Linked DNA regions of Homo sapiens: regions 2, 3 and 4 are each linked to region 1. Evidence: promoter capture Hi-C in 16 types of primary human blood cells and fetal thymus (Javierre and others, 2016). All regions are on one chromosome and are shown on one strand. Each heading gives the region's core, a stretch centred on a gene start or on the middle of the fragment in contact. The rest is flanking DNA. Distances are from core to core; before and after follow the strand shown.

Region 1 (4,171 bases), core at 616-3,115:
GTAACTACAAGAAGCAAAATATTTAGAGGCAGAAAAGTTGGAGACAACTAAAAAAATTAAAAACAAGAATAAAACCAAAATACTATCTTCAGTCTTCTTTTGCTGAAGGACCTACTAACTAACGTACAATTTTGAGGAGCAAGAAGCAAATACATAATGATCAAAACTGCTAAACAATATATTCAAGGGGATTCAATACTACATACAAGACCATAAGAGACCTTGAACGCTTTAATGTACTGTACAAATTGTGACAATGCTCATCTCCACATCACAGGGCTTTTTACACATTGTGTTTCATCTCTACCAGCTTATTTCTGACAAACAATACACAAAAATATTTTCAGCAAACATGACTCAACGTTGAATTGGAAAAGCTAGACATAAAAGAGCCATGTAAAAATAAGCAGTGCCTGGGACACACTATTATTATTACTTTTATCCTTTAGGAGTTAGCAATTCTGGTAGCTTGTCCAAATTCTGCCAATGAAAAAGTACTAAAAATACTGAACTTTTAAACCATGTGTCTGCTTAAGATACCTTAACATATAAAAGCACTGTAAGAAACACACCTACCCAAACCCTTAAAATGTAACCTCAACCTTATCACAAGCCAGCTTTGCGGACTGCAATCTTTCCCCGACTTGGCTAATCAGATGCTACTTGAATGAATTAAAATGTATCCATCTTGAAAAGATTTTTCGCTCATAGTTTTAAATTACGGTTTTAAATGTCCACAACATGTTTATCTATCGTAGAAAACTTAATGGTCAAAATTTTAAAATCCAAAAAACGAGAACTTGCGATGGATCTATGACGTCCACTTATCTTCCGAAGCAATGGAATTAACTAAAACTAGATAAAATAGGCACAAATACAACTTCCAATTGTAACATACTCATAGAAGTATTTCCCTACCAGACTAAATAATAGTTTTTTTGTTTTGTTTTGTTTTTTTTACATAATCACAGTTATGCTAGTCCTTGATAATGTTAAGCTAATCCTTTGGGATCAAACAACCAAGTGACTTTCTTATCAAAACAAGAACTCGGGCTTTTCCATTACGTGTACACAGACTTATGAAAAACGGTGAAAAAAAAATCTAGTAACTGTCTCACAGGGATCCAAGGTAAGACTTGGATTTCACAAAAATCTGCAATAATTCAGTTTCTTTCCTCAGAATGCTTATACTCATTTAAAAATGGAAGTCTACAAGAGAACGTAGTAACATCCTACTGCGTGACATGAAATGTAGGGAACGAATGTTTCTTTTTTTCCTTGCTGAACTCGTTAGTGCCGCCAGGTCCTCAGGAGAGGCCCAAGGGAGGTGAAGGGGGCGACCCCGAGGCGAGGAAAAAACGAGCGCCGCCGCTCAGCCCGGGGAGGGCATCCTCCGGCCTCCGTGAGTGGCCGGTCTCTCCGGCCGCCAGAGCACCCCTCTCAACCCGGGCCTTGGGGACGGAGGACAGAGATAAAATGGCCTCGAAGCGGCGGAAGTGTTCCCCGCAGGCGGGAAGGTAGAGCGGCTCACGAGAGACCGGTGCCGCACCAGGCCCGTGTGGCCTTTCGGGCCCTGCCCGCCCCTTACCCGCCGGGGGCGGCTGCGCATCAGCCCTCAGGCCCCGGAGGTCCCCCGCGTCCGCTCCCGCCAGCCGGCCCGCGCCTACCTCTCCAGGCAGAAGCCGCGCCGGCGCCACCGGTCGCATAGGCCGAGGCCGCGCTGCTTGCCCTGCCGCCCGGGCCCCCCGGGCCACCGCGCAGCCGGACAGCTCTGCCGCCGGCCCCGCCGCGCTCCTAGTCCCGCCGCAACCCCTGCGCTCCCCTTTATTTGTGGGTCTCGCTGCCACAAAATGGCGCTGAGGGAGGAAACCAGGCCCCGCCGCCCGGCCCCGCCCCGCCGCACGGCTCCGCTCCGCCCTGCCCCGCCCCACAGCCGGTCCGAACGCGCCGCAGGCCAGCGCCACTGCCTCCCGCCTCCCGCCTCCCGCCTCCCGCCAGCCTCCCCGCTCCGCCATGTTCGCCTTCTGGCCCACTCACAGGAGAGTCGCCTTTCAGGCGTGGCCGCAGTCACTCGCCCGCCGCCGAACCCCGCCAGGAGAGGAAAGGTGAAGGGAGGGAGGCCGTCGGCCTAGCCCGATCGGGGCCTCGAGGCACAATGGAGCAGCTGCTCCCCGGTAACACTCCCCGTCCTTTCCCAGGAGCCTGGCGCGAGCTCCGCGGGCCCCGGAGCTCAGCAAGCTCAGTAAGGGAAGCGGCCGAGGGGAGGGGCGGGCCAGCGAGGTCGGAGGTCAGCCCCAGGGCATCACGGGAAGGGAAGGTGGAAGTACTCGCCGGGGCCACCTGCGGCTGCGGGGCTGCCTCGTGCGGAGGGATCTGGGCGAAGGCGGCGCGTGATTGGCCGCTCTGTGTTCGTGACGCTCATCCGTGATGCTTCCGCGTGTCGGAGGACCAGGTGCCACCTCAAGAGAGAGGCCGTGGGCGGCGAGCCGCGGGCGTTTACTCTTAGCAGAAGCTCACCTGTAAGTTTTGAGAACTTAGAAACCGATGCCTTCCCTCTCATCAGTCGTGAGGCGCAGTCTCCTGGCCGCTGGGTTCGTTCCTCCTTGACATCTCTGGAGACGCATCGAGGAGCTATTGTTCTCTGGCGTCGGAGGTTGCGCTGTGTCCGCGGCGTTGAGGGCCCCTTGCTAACTGGAACACGGGGAAGGCGGCCCTGTGAGGTTTAGTGAACTCAATCAAAGAGGTCCTGCAAGTGGAGTAGACTCCCTGAAGTAAGACTGCCATCTGGACCGCCGAGTAATGGCGGTGTTACCTGGAGAACGTGAAACAGTCTCTAAACACTTACTAGAAGAGCACGTAATTCTTTTGATTGGTCTGTCCTTAGCCGGCTTTATCAAACCTGTTCATCCCCAAAGGAGTGTCTTGTAGTAAGGTGATTTATTAGGATAAGATTAAAGTACATTCCAGATGGTCGTAGTATATTTCCAGTGAATCAGATCGGTCTGGAGAAAATCTTTGCAACTCGTATCACAAGAGCTCTCAAAAATTGAAAACAAAAAGTGCAAAAGCCAAAGGAGAAAATGGGGAAGGACATGAACAGATGATTCTCAGAAAAAATACCGTAATGGTCTTTAAACATAGAAAGTCGCTCCACCTCACTTACAATGGAAATACACGTTGAAATTACCTTTCCTGGTGGGAGTGGAAAAATGGTTCAAGTTCCACGGAGTACAAAATTACTTGTGTTTATTCTTATACCTTGCAGTTATACTTCTAACCCTAACCTTATTCTGAAGGTGCAGCTCCACACATGGAAACAATAGGTATACAAGGTTATTGCAGTGCTATTTGTCATAGCAAAAGTTAGGGATAACCCAAATATCCGTTAATAGGGAACTGATTGGGAATGGTGCATCCATACAGTAGAACACAATGCAACCATTAAAAAGATTCAGGAAATAATCGTGTGTTGCTTTGGAATGAGTCTCAGGTTGTATTAAGTATTCACTTAAATATTTAAGTGTAGTAAGTATTCACTGTATTCAAAAGCAAAAATAAGCATATATGCTTTTATGTATTTACTTAAATACATAAAAATATATATTTATATTTAATATGAATATTTATGTGTATATGCTTATTTTCGGGGAGGAATTGGAAGGATATCCTGGAAACTTAACATTTTTAGTTGCCTATAAAGAGTGGGGGGTGGAGACAAGATTTCTCTGTCTTTGAACTTTTAGTTTTACATAGCCAAAAAAGTAAATAAAAAAGGAAACAAAGTAAATCCTAAGGTTGAAAGCAAATTGAAACAAATGAACTTAACTGTTAACTAATATAACTAAGATACACAGAAAAAATAATTATTCTTTGGGTTTTTTTTTTTTTTTTTGAGACAGTCTCACTGTGTTGCCCAGGCTGGAGTGCAGTGGTGCAATCTCAGCTCACTGCAACCTCTGTCTCCTGGGTTCAAGCGATTCTCTCAGCTCAGCCTCCTGAATAGCTGGGATTACAGGCATGCGCCACCATCCCCTGCTGATTTTTGTATTTTTAATAGAGATGGGATTTCACCATGTTGGCCAGGCTGGTCTGGAACTCCTGACCTCAGGTGATCCGCCTGCAGGTTGGCCTCCCAAAGTGCTGGGATTACAGGAATGAACCACCACCACTG
Region 2 (4,171 bases), core at 1,213-3,712, 800 kb before region 1:
GCCCTCCAGGCTGCGTGACAGAGTGAGACTGCCATCTCTTAACCCACTTCTTATTTAGAAAAAGAAAATATGTAGCTTGCTGCCTGCATAGTATTCTTGGGGCAAATGGGAAATGAGTTAAAAAAAAAAAAAAGAACTCTTACAACTCAACAATAAAAAGAAAAACAAGAACGTGAATAGACATTTTTTCCAAAAAAGATATACAAATAGGCAATAAGTACATGAAATGATGGTCAACATCATTAGTCATTAAGAAAATGCCAATAAAATCACAATGAAATAAGACTTCATATCCATTAAAATGTCTATAATTTAAAAAATGGAAAATAACAAGCATTTGTGAGGATGTGGAGAAATTAGAATCCTGTATATTGCTGGTGGGAATGTACAGGGAAAATGGTTTGGCCACTGTGGAAAACAATTTGACAGTTCCTTAAAATGCTAAACATAGAATTACCATGTGATCTAACAATTTTACTCTTAGGTGTATATATACAAGAATTGAAAACAAGTGCCCAAACAGATACCTTGCATGAGAATGTTCATAGCAGCACTGTTACAACAGCCACACCCAAATGTCAATCAATAGATGAGGGGATAAACAAATTGTGGTTTATACAGCTACAAAAAGGAATGAAGTACTGGTATCCGCTACATGGCTGAAACTTGAAAGCAAGGGCTGGGATGGGGTCATGGAAAGTACCAGCTTATTGGGTACTGCATTGTGCTTTGGGGTCATGAAAATGTTTTGGAACTGGATGGAGGTGGTGGTTGCCAATGTGAACATACTAAATACAACGCATTGTTCACTATAAGACTGCTACTTTTCTTATGAGAATTTCACTTCAATTAAAAAATACCTTCCATGTATCCTTTCTAAGGATGATACTAGAATATTTGCTTTGGCAAAATGAGGAAGTAACTTTTTTTAAAAAGGAAGATGTGGGATCCATGAAACGGGATCAAATATCAGAGAGGAAAGGGGGTCTTCTGGATGACAGTCCATGGAGATCCCACAACTGCACAGCAGGCCGGCTGTGCACCCAGGCCACACCAGAGCAGAGCCGGTGGTTCCCGAGGAGCTCTCTGGAAGAAAAACGCTAGATGGCCTGATTGGTTTGGGGGCATATTGAAAAGGTATATAACTGAGAATTTGGAGTGGAATTAGGAAACAGACATAAAAGCTTACAGAAAAGAAAATAATGAATTCTAGGGAGAAATATAAAAGGATACTACAGGCCTCAGTTACATAAACACTGAATATTTACTTAACCAAAATTACAATATAATTACATAATTATTTTAGGTACATATGGCAAAAGGATGTGTGGGTGTATGTAGTATGTACGGTGTGTGAAGTGTATGTGTGTGGTATGTGGACGGTATGTGTATGCTGTGTATGCCAATAAAATCACAATGAAATAAGACTTCATATCCATTAAAATGTCTATAATTTAAATGTCTATAATTTTAAAAATGGAAAACACTTCTCATATGGCAGGAGCAGGAGCAAGGGTGGGGGAGGTACCACACACACTTAAACAACCAGATCTCCTGAGAACTCACTATCAGGAGAACAGCACCTGGAGAAGGTGCTAAACCATTCATGAGTTACTGCCCTATGAGCCAATCACCTCCCATCAGACCCCGCCTCCACACTAAGGATTACAATTTGACTTGAAATTTGGGCATGAACACAGATCGAAACCATATCAATAGGTAATGACTAAAACTGAAAAAAGAAGTACCACAGTCAGAAAGTTATTTAGAGAGCTGAAGGTAAATGCCAATAGGATCAGTTGAAAGAATTGGAGGTGGCCGGGTGCGGTGGCTCAGGCCTGTAATCCCAGCACTTTGGGAGGCGGAGGTGGGTGGATCGCCCTGAGGTCAGGAGTTTGAGACCAGCCTGGCCAACATGGTGAAACCCAGTCTCTACTAAAAATACAAAAATTAGCCAGGCCTGGTGGTGGACGCCGTAGTCCCAGCTACTCAAGAGGCTGAGGCAGGAGAATCGCTTGAACCAGGGAGGTGAAGGTTGCAGTGAACCGAGATCGTGCCACTGCACTCCAGCCTGGGTGACAGAGCAAAACTCCATCTCAAAAATAAATGAAATAAAGAATTGGAAGTGTTTGCCTCTGGAGAGAAGGAAACGCAGTAATTCTGTAAAAACAGAACTTTTTACTTTTTTTCTTTTTTTTTTTTTTTTTGAGACAGAGTCTCCTTCTGTCACCCAGGCTGGAGTGCAGTGGTGCAGTCTTGGCTCACCGCAACCTCTGCCTCTTGGGTTCAAGCAATTCCCGTGCCTCAGCCTCCCAAGTAGCTAGGATTACAGATATGGGCTGCTATATCCAGCTAATTTTTTTTTATTTTTATTAGAGATGAAGTTTCACCATGTTGGCCAATCTGGTCTCAAGCTCCTGGACTCATGATCCTCCTGCCTCGGCCTTCCAAATTGCTATGATTACAGGTGTGAGCCACCATGCCTGGACAGAACTTTTTGACTCTTTAAACTATGTGCATATATAAAGCTGATTTAAAAAAAACCAAGTAAAATAATTTTAAAATGTTCCAAAACAGATTGGATGGGTACACACTTCATCATGAGTGGTTGAGGGAGACTGGGTTAGAGATGAGGAAATTCCAGGGACTGGGGAAAAGTTAAAATGACAAACTGTTCACAATTGTTAACTGCAGGTTGTGGGAAAGTTGGTAAGTTGCTACAGTGTTTGTTCCCTCTGTAGGTTTGCATATATTTAACATTTCTTAAATTAGCATAATAATGAACTGTGTAATCAGCTGTAGAGTTGAGGGTGTGGAGCTGGCACAGGACAGCTGAGCTACTGGTTTAAAATAAATGACATTTAAAAAAATGGCTATTTGTAGAATTAACAGATATAAGACACCCTGATCAAGGGATGATAAGAAAGGACTCCAGGGCTCTGTCTCAGCTGTCTTGGCAACACCTGGAAGACATGGGCCTCTGCAAGGTCTCATACTTTCAGGAGGTGTTGATGAAGGATATGGACAGATCTGAAGCTCTGGGCACTGCATGGTCTGAGAAGAGAAGCTCCGGAAACGCGGGAGCTGAGTGCAGATGCAGAAGGGCTGTCATCCAGCAGAGGGGTAGGTGACAACTGGCCTAGCGAGTGACCCTTATCATGGCTACATTTGTTGATCACTTTCTTTGTATGAGGCACTGCTGTGATTGCATTAAATTTCCACTTACCTAAATCCAACGTTGTGCACTTGTGAATTTCTACTCTTACAAAAAACACAACGGCAACAACCTCAAACCAGTAATCTAGTCAAAAAAGCAATTCCCAAGGCATGACATTCAGATTCATCAGCACTCACAGAGACTACAGTGATTGCTGATAACGCCAACTTAATACCTGGCCAACAGCATGGATCCTGACCTCCACTTTTCTTGTGTGTTTACAGAACCACAAAAAGGTGCAGTGTTTTCATTTTTGTTGCATGTTTCACAGGTCTATATAACCCACTTTTAAAGTAAAAAAGGGTCTTAGTGATGAACAATAAAAGTATAAATTCAATACACCATATACCTTTGTCATATGACTATATATAGACTTTTACATACCCTTGCATATGGATCATATGGATCAAATTAGTAGATGAAATAGAATTTTTAAAAAATGAAATATTTTCTGGTTATCAAGCATATCAGCTACCTTTAAAATATTAATTTTACTGTACTTATATTAATTATTGAAGCTTAAACTTCAGAATAGTGGAGGATAAAAGTAAAATATAGCAAAAAGATTTCTCCTTTATTACTTCTTTAAATCAGAGAAAAGACATTTAAAGAGAAAATAGGAGTATCTTCCCCACTCCACATAACTTATGAAGTAAGCAGCTAATTGATCATATCATAAAGAGGCACCAGATAAAATCTGTGTGGCTCAAAATATTAGGAGCACTGCTTCTGTGAAATCAGTTAAAGTAAACGCCCATATTGGTCATGCATTGATACACATGCTTATTTTCCTAAGTGAATTCTCCACAATTCTGAAAATCAGTGAAAAGATCATCTCATGTTAGTTCCACACAAAACCAAGCAGTGCATGTGACTGTCCATGTTTCCAGGCATACACATCCCGTTTCACCAGGATCAAAGTGCCCAATGGGAAGCAACTTCTTGCCTTTTAAA
Region 3 (4,171 bases), core at 1,031-3,530, 730 kb after region 1:
TATAAAATTGATAGGTCTCCCATGCCCCTAGCACCTAGCCTTATTTCCTGCTTTATTTCGAATTAGCTATTATAATTATGTAACACCCATAATGTACTCACTTTTCTTGTTTGTATGACTCCTCCACTAGAATATAAATTCTGTCAAGGCAGGACTTTTAATCTGTTGTTTGTTTTTGTTTTTCACTGCTATATCCCCACTAACACCAGGGGAGTGGGGACGAGGGACAAGAAAACAACAATGCTTGGCACATACTAGATACACATAACTATTTGTGGAATGAATCTTTCAGTTTCAGATCATCCAAGAGTTGTCCACAAAATAGTCAGATATCCAGGACTGTCACCTGAGGGAGAAGTCTAGGTTAGAGATACATCCTTTGCTACCCTGAGTATATAGGTGGTACTAGAAATTACAGACGTGAAATGGGACTGCCCTGGGAGAAAGTACAAGAAGAGAAACAGGCTGTGGATAAAAACTTGTACAGGCCAGGCACAGTGGCTCACGCCTGTAATCCCAACACTTTGGGAGGCTGAGGAGGGCGGATCACCAGGTCAAGAGAACAAGACCATCCTGGCCAACATGGTGAAACCCCGCCTCTACTAAAAATACAGAAATTAGCTGGACGGGGTGGCACACGCCTGTAGTCCCAGCTACTCAGGAGGCTGAGGCAGGAGAACCACTTGAACCGGGGAGGCGGAGGTTGCAGTGAGCCAAGATCGCGCCACTGCACTCCAGCCTGGCCACAGAGCGAGACTCCATCTAAAAAAAAAAAAAAAGAAAGAAACTTGTACAAGAACCTATAGTGGCTATCAATTTCTTTATAAAGCCCACTGTGGCTGGTATAGCACTATTGTTTACCCACTTAATACCCACTCAATTCTGCCCCAACATCCTCCTAACAGAATTTGTTCTCCTCCTCCCTGGCCAAGTGTTTCTTGGAGGCCTAGAAAGACCGGTTACCTGGTCTAATCCAAATATGGTGGTCTTATATAGATCCTAAGCTTAAATCAATATGATGTAATTCTGGTCAGTTGGGAGTTTACGAGGGGGTTTTGCTCTTCCAATAAAGACAAAAGAGCAGATACTTCTATTACTACTTTGTTGAAGCCAACAACCCAGGTGACAGAGTGGAAAGGTAGGGGAAAAAACGTGTTGTTGATAATGTGCTGAGCCCCCAAGTTACCCTCCAGGTTAACCAACCTGGGGAGTGTAAAATAATGAATTCCTTATTATTTCAGCCACTTGGAATTGGTTTTTTGTTACTTGAGGGAAAAAATATTCTAATTAATATGCTAGTGTTTACTGTTTCCACGATGTGGTGTCAGCCTGTCTATATATATTTCTACAACTCATCTACACAAACCTTGCTTACAGTTTTCCAAATGCACCTTGGGCTTCTTGAGCCTTTGATCAAGCCATTCCGAATGCACTTCCCCCAAGAGGCTGGCCAGTTAAAATACTATCATTTATCAAACACAACTTAAATGTCACTTTCTCCTCTAGCCCTTTCAGAAATTACCTCAAAATTAAATGATCAGACCTAAAATATGTTGGGAGTGTTTTCACCTCTAGAATTTACCATACACCTTTATGCTAGTGTTACTTATAGAATGCCTACATCTGCTTTAGGTCATACACTTCAAAGCACAGAACGGTCCAGATCTTAATATAAAGGCTTGCCATTTACCAGGCACAGCTCTAAGTATTAACGGTTTTAATCCTCAAGACAAAACCTAAAGAGATAAATTCTTCTATTGCCACTTTGTGGATTAGGAAAATGAAGCACAAAAACATTTAACTTGCCTGAGGTTTCGGAGCTAGTACATTCTAGAACCTGGATTCAAATCAAGACAGCAATTAGCTGAATGAAGGTGTAACTGCAAATGCAAATAACTGATCACAAGGGATACACATTCACTCATACAAGATAGAAGATTTTTAACGTTGCTGGTACTAAAACCAAAGCGTCTGCGTTTTTAAGCGCAGCCCCACCCCGCAATACTAGAGACATTCTTTAGAGCTGGAAGCCTGATAGATTAAGGGGAACTATGCCTTTGTATTTTTTAAGACTCAATAAATTGCTCACTTCTTTCCCAAAATGAGGTGTCTGTGGGGGAGGCCCCTGTCGCTCCGTGTGCCAAGGGTCCTCCGATTGCTAGCACACAGCGGTGAGCAGAGAAGGTAGGTGAGGAACTGCACTGACTCAGCTGCAGAGGGCGGCGGCAGCCCGCCCCTGGGGCGGGAGAAGGGCAGGAGCCGGGAGACACCAGGAAGCTCTTCCCCGCCCGGGCACGTAACAGAGCTGGGAGCCTGGCTGCCAGGGGCGTGTTATCGCGGGGGCAGCCTGGGAGCGCTGCTGCGCCGCGGCAGGAGAAACAGCCGAGGACACCCTGGAAGAGCAGGAGCACGTGGGCCTGCGAGAATGGCGCCAACACCAGCCCTGCAAAGCCACATTCCAAAGCCGGGCCAAGGACAGCCACCGTTGCCCCGCAGGCCTCAAGGATGACGGTCAAGCCAGCCAAGGCCGCCTCCCTAGCCAGGAACCTCGCAAAGCGCAGGCGCACCTACCTGGGTGGCGCGGCTGGGCGGAGTCAAGAGCCGGAAGTCCCTTGTGCCGCAGTCCTTCCCGGGAAACCTGGGGACCGGAACTGCCCGGAGTTCCCGCCCCCAGACAGAACCCTGGGTTGCTGGGCAACCGATGCGGCCCCCGCAGCTGGTCTCTGTGGTGCTGGGAGCGAGCCCAGTATAGCTCCCACCTCCTGCGCTGGTAACCTCCCGTCCCGCCCGCCTCCCTTGTTGTCGCCTCTCCTCGCGTCGCGGAATCCTTGCCCTTGGCACTACTTACATCTCTCCGGGTCCCACAACACCTTAGCGCCCACCTGCTTCAAAGCCAAGCTCCACCGAAAGCGAGGCAGTCAGCCCCCGGACATGGCCTCAGCGCTGACTGATCGCACCTCTCGGGCCCCGAGCACCTACACCTACACCAGCCGGCCCCGAGCACTGCCCTGCCAGCGCAGCCGTTACCGGGACAGCCTGACGCAGCCGTGAGTGACCAAGCCAGCCCCTGTGTGGTCCATACTTGCACCCCATCCCCAGGCCGGGGTCTGGCCCCTTCGCCCTGGCAAAAAAGCTGCTTATGCTGTCTTCCCTTGGCTGCACTCTGCCGAAATAAAAGTTCTGCCCTAAGGAATCTCCCGTGGTGTGGAGGAGTGAAGCAGGAAGGGGCATGGGTTGGGCATCAGTTAACTTTTAGTGATATGAGTTGCTGCCGTGGTCCTTAACATGTACACGAATTGGCTCATTTCACAAAGTTTGAATTGTACCAGTGTGTATTGAGGGCCAACTACGTGCTGAGCACCTTACGGGGGGCATTCAAATACGTTTTCTTAGTTAATCCACAGTGCTGTGAAGTTGATTTTATAACTCCATTATGCAGATGAGGAGACCGCGGTGCAAAGATATCCAACAGTAGCATATCCAAAATGGGAGCCGAGTAAATCTCTTCGGCAGGCTTTGAGCAGGAGTAAGATTATTCTTCCATGCAGGACCACAGATTGGTTTTTTGTGGTGGTGGTGGTGGTGGTGGTGGTGGTTGCTGTTGTTGTTTTGAGACGGAGTTTCGCTCTTGTCGCCCAGGCTGGACTGCAATGACGCGATCTCCGCTCACTGCAACCTCCGCCCCCCTCCCCCACTCCTCCCCGATCAAACGATTCTCCTGCCTCAGCCTCCCAAGTAGCTGGGACTAGAGGCGCCCTCCACCACCCCCGGCTAATCTTTGTATTTTTAGTAGAGACAGGGTTTTGCCACGTTGGCCAGGCTGGTCTCAAACTCTTGGCCTCAAGTGATCCGCCCGCCTCGGCCTCCCAAAGTGCTGGGATTACAAGCGTGAGCCACCGCGCCCGGACGGCAGTTTGTGTTTTTACATCCATGAACAGTTGCAAATATTCAAACATACATAGGAAAGAAAAAAAACAAAACATAAGCCTTTTTTTTTTTCTTTTTTTTTTTTTGAGACGGAGTCTCGCTCTGTCGCCCAGGCTGGAGTGCAGTGGCACAATCTCGGCTCACTGCAACCTCCACCTCCCGGGTTCACGCCATTCTCCTGCCTCAGCCTCCCAAGTAGCTGGGACTACAGGCGCCCGCCACCACGCCCGGCTCTTTTTTTTTT
Region 4 (4,171 bases), core at 565-3,064, 560 kb after region 1:
AGAGAAATGAGTGAGAAGAGCAGCTTTGTTTCTACATTTTGGCAAATCTTTTTAATAGAATATCTCCGATCTGCTTATGCATTCAATCTATTGCAATATGTCGTTTTGCTTGGAGAAAACCCAGCCTCACACAGATGTGTAGCTGGACAACTATTTCAATAGCCTTTTTGGATAATTTTGAAAAATCTTTGATATTACACCAAAATTCATCAAGTAGCCAATTCTTAGAATCTGAAATCATATGAAGAATTTTTCATATTTTGTTACATTAAAAATCCATTGGGCTATCATGCACTTTGAACAGACCTTTTACCCATGCAAGATTGTTGTAAGGCTATACACTGGTCATTTGGATCTATTGGTTTATTTGGTTATGCAGATCATCCAAATGTTGACACATTTTATGAGATGACATTTACAAATCACATTCATTTATATCACCATTGATCTCACTAGAAAAAAATTTAAATATTGGGAAACTTTCAAGCTTACAGTGGTGGAAACAACTTGGCAAAATTCTGATTTTCACTTGAAAGCTGAAATGTTATCATTGGCAAGCAATAATAGCAGTTATTTTACTAGAAGTAGCAAGTTCCCTTTGTTCATTTTTGAGAAAACATCGGCCAAATACCCAAGTCAGAATAGCTCTAGTTTGTCTGTTGTCATTCTTTGTGGTAAATACCACATTCCATTTTAAAAAACCAGCTAGCTTAATGCATAACACAAACAATCACACCAGTGCTTCCCCCTGGGGTTGCCACTGAACTTGGTCATCAGCAGTAGTAACTTATGTGTCCTTCCCATTTATTTACACTATTAAAAAGACATACACTCAAAGATACAAAGATTTGGTAAAATTAATAATTTTACTGTGGCATCAAGAACATTCTTAATGAAACTGGCAAATTTTTTTTAACTGCAAAGTCCCCCCAAAATTCAAAGACTACTAGTGCATGGTGATGTCCCTGCCTTGATTCTCAGTAAGACACCCGCAGTTTACCCATCAAGCTTTTGCACCCTCAGTGCAAATGTCAACTGTGAAAAAGGAAAATAGCATCTTAGTAATCTTAGTATTACTTTGAAAATAGTTTTGACATGGAAAATTCCCTAAAAGCTTCTTTAAAGAAGAAAATAAAAATCATCCCTAACCATCCTAAGATACCCACTGCAAATATGTGCATGTGTGAGTACATCCACATGTGTTTAGAAAAATGTATCATACCAGACTGGCAAGGCCATCATAATTTTAATGTTTGCATAGTATCCTATTGTAGGGATGAATATGAGTGGAGGAGGGGACACTGCTTGCTTATTTTGTTTTATGTTTAATTGACCCTACACTGAAGGGCTTATCCAGATCTTCAGTGTGTCCTGCTTTAAGCAAAGTCCCTCGGAGCCACTATTATGTGGCCGTGGGTAATTTCCTTACAGAGATTCTGGCCCCAAAAGGGTGGTGAAGGGGAGAGCTTGACACAAGCAGCTCGCTTGGTCCATGCATTAGTTCAACCAGAGAGAGGGAGCAGTCTATCCATGACGTTGCTGTCAAAGGGAGCCCATGAAAGAAGTTATGTACCCCATAATTTCATCCACAGCATGGGGAGCTATCTACAGGTTGCTATGTCTGTTTCTATCCTTCTATTACTTAATTTAAATTTAGTAGATTTCATTCTGAAATGTGCCTGTCCTCCTTTGTCCACCTCTAGTCTGGTCATCATTTGACTGTAGATCCCACGTCAACACAGTAGAGAGAAGGGCTGGGAAGCTGTCCAGCCCCAGCATTCCTCAGCACAGTGATTCACAGAGCAGAAGGCGAAAAAGCAAGAGTGCAGATCGCGGTGGGATTCCAGGAGCTCTCACAAACAACCCCGCTCGGACCCACTCACATGCAACCCACGGGCAGGTGGCAGAGGAATCGGAAAAGCAGAAGGCTGGAATCGCCACAAAGCCAGGGCAGCACTGGTTCCAGTTTCAGATCATTTTCAGAAACAAAAACTCTTCCAGCACTCTGAAAATTTTCACTTAGAAAAACAAAAGCCAGGAGTTGTAGGTGGGGAAGTTGGAAGACTTTATTTAGTTTTATTCCTCTCAAGTACTGTGCAAAGTATTCAGTGAATACTTTCCTAGAGTTCACTAATGGGAAGAAAAAGACCCTACGGCAGGCACTGCCTTTTATGAGAAAGTGGCATTGGCATCAGAATACCTCGCATAAACCTGAGCCAAGCATTGGGATGATGTATCTACCAAAAAGTCACAAAGTAATGTGATCCCCAACTTTTCTTCCTTTACCCCTGAAGTAAGAGAACAATATATACACTAAATAGCATCATAAAACTGGTACCCTCGTTGGAATAGTATCTGACGATCATTGTCTGCTTCTTGGATTTCTACAAACCAATAACCTAAAAGCCAGTTTCAAGTGTAAAAATGCCTGCAAAGGAGGTGGTAACAAGGGCCGCCAAAGGCTTAGGAATGAAAACCTCGCCACAAACTTGTCTCTCTCTGCAGGAAGCTTGCAAGAAATCTGACAGGAGCGCGCTAGCATTTTCTGAAAAGCATTGCTCTCAAAGGAAGCATCCATCCTGGCTGCAGCCTCAGCCATTGGGGAAGGGCGAGTTTCTCTGGAATCAGCTTTCTCATTTCCCTCTCCCTCCTCTCAAGACAAACATTTTCTCCCAGCTTGAACGTTCCCCCCGGGCGCGCGGGCCTCCTGCCGCCTGGAGCCGAGCTGGCACTGGAGCGCTTCTCCTCTGGAGCGCAGAGGCACCCGACGCCCTGCGGCAGCTCGCAGCCTTTCCCCCACGACCTTCTAGAACAGCCCTGCTCTGCCTCCCTCCGGTCTCCCGAGTGCGCCCGTCATCCTGCCTCGCGAGAGGTGAACGCGGAGAAAGTAGGATGACCACCTACGCTCCCGAGAAATTCTGGGCAAAGAAAGGCATTACCCCAGTCCGCACGCTGAAAGTCGCCTTTCTTTTCCTTTTTTCCCCGCTGTGCCTGAATCTCCCGGGACACTTAGACGGCTGGAGCCTCCCGACTCCAAGGCGGGCGACGGCAAAGTTAAACGCCAGCGCGCTGCGGTCCCCGGGCACCGAGGCGTCCCCGCTCCCGCCACCCACACAGGGCGCCAAGTGCCCCGACCCGCGAGTGACGAGGACGCACAGGCTAGTGACACGACCCGTAGCCAGCACTGAGCGGGACGACGGGGCCCGAGCGCAGGAGGGTGCGCGGGGAGCTGAGGAGCGCCGGGGGCCCGGGCGCGGCGCGTACCTGAGGCCGCCGCCGAGGAGGCGACGGGGAGCAGCGCGGCCAAGAGCAGCAGCGCCGCCCAGGACAGCCGGCGCGGCGCGCGCAGGGTCGCCCCGGCCTCGGGGGCCATCGAGAGCCCGGGGTGGGCCGGGGCTGGGTGCTTGCGGCTGGCAGGGGGGCGCTGGCCGGAGTCTGGGGAGTGCCGAGGCGCCGCCGTCGGGTCCCCGCCGCCGTCCGTCTGTTCTGCGCGCTCTGCGCGGTGCCCGCCGCGCCCCTGCCCCGCGGCGATCGCTCCCGGCCGCACACCGGCAGCCGCGCTCCGCCACTGAGGCCGCCGACCTCCCGCCGAGCCTTTTAGCTGCGCTCGGGCGCCCCCTGCCGGTGTGCGGGGCCGGGGCCAGGGCCGGCGGGGGCGACCCGGGCGACAGGGGCGACGGGGGCGGCGGGGCCCGGGCTGGAGGCGGGCGGGGCGCGGGACGAAGGGGCCGGAGCGCCCCGGACTGACTTAGCGGTTCTGAACTTGGGGCGGTCGCTGTGCCGGGCCAAGTGGCTGAGGAAGTTCCTCCCCTCGTCTAACCCTCTCATTTTCTGGCTGGGGAAGTCGCCCATCGCGCCGAGGAGTGCCCTTTGTCCCCTTACAGAAACACCTCTGCGCCCCAAGTGGGGACTCGGGCCGGGACCCCTCACCCGGTCCGCAGCGCTGTAGTTCCTGTGGCTAGCCCAGTCCTTCCACGTCCCTACCCGCACCCGGCGCGCCCACGTCAGGGGTTTTCAGCGTCCTTAGACCCTGCTCCGTCTGGCTGTCATTTCTAGGGCGCGCACGATGCGGGTCGAAAAGGAACCCAGTTTTCAGTGTGCCTTGTTGCCCAGGCCAAGGACTCAGCGGACCTCGCCTCTCCCTTTTCTGTAATTGTAACACTGCCCCAGG

Evidence for each region. The method cuts DNA at HindIII sites, captures the fragments that hold promoters and counts their contacts. A CHiCAGO score of 5 or more calls a contact.
Region 2: a fragment that was not itself captured here is called in contact with the fragment with the promoter of WTAP in region 1 in 1 of 17 cell types (total CD8 T cells); the score reaches 5.8 in total CD8 T cells.
Region 3: the fragment with the promoter of RSPH3 here is called in contact with the fragment with the promoter of WTAP in region 1 in 1 of 17 cell types (neutrophils); the score reaches 5.5 in neutrophils.
Region 4: a fragment that was not itself captured here is called in contact with the fragment with the promoter of WTAP in region 1 in 1 of 17 cell types (total B cells); the score reaches 5.1 in total B cells.

The regions. Positions count from the first base shown.
Region 1 is chr6:159,725,200-159,729,370 of GRCh38, reverse strand. It overlaps WTAP (WT1 associated protein), which reads right to left and starts at 1,865. Exons shown (of 8, transcript NM_001270531.2): 1 at 1,668-1,865. It also overlaps a transcript of SOD2 not described here. RefSeq lists a silencer at 1,447-1,996 and enhancers at 1,459-2,056, 2,007-2,136, 2,487-2,576, 2,057-2,654. The HindIII fragment of the contact is 6,285 bases long and covers 1-4,171 here.
Region 2 is chr6:160,520,923-160,525,093 of GRCh38, reverse strand. The region is part of intron 1 of LOC124901454 (a long non-coding RNA gene); the gene reads right to left. Among named protein-coding and RNA genes, the nearest start is that of LPA, 140 kb to the left of the region's middle. The HindIII fragment of the contact is 2,551 bases long and covers 1,187-3,737 here.
Region 3 is chr6:158,998,311-159,002,481 of GRCh38, reverse strand. RSPH3 (radial spoke head 3) reads left to right here and starts at 2,280. Exons shown (of 8, transcript NM_031924.8): 1 at 2,280-3,047. The coding sequence starts at 2,932. It overlaps TAGAP-AS1 (TAGAP antisense RNA 1), which reads right to left and starts at 2,609. Exons shown (of 5, transcript NR_183546.1): 1 at 2,090-2,609. RefSeq lists enhancers at 1,972-2,021, 1,594-2,565, 2,432-2,591, 2,762-2,831, 2,862-2,911 and 2 more. The HindIII fragment of the contact is 7,152 bases long and covers 1,007-4,171 here.
Region 4 is chr6:159,168,799-159,172,969 of GRCh38, reverse strand. FNDC1 (fibronectin type III domain containing 1) reads right to left here and starts at 3,570. Exons shown (of 23, transcript NM_032532.3): 1 at 3,265-3,570. The coding sequence starts at 3,373. It overlaps FNDC1-AS1 (FNDC1 antisense RNA 1), which reads left to right and starts at 2,963. Exons shown (of 4, transcript NR_121668.1): 1 at 2,963-3,158. RefSeq lists an enhancer at 2,216-2,715 and a silencer at 3,522-3,691. The HindIII fragment of the contact is 1,395 bases long and covers 1,117-2,511 here.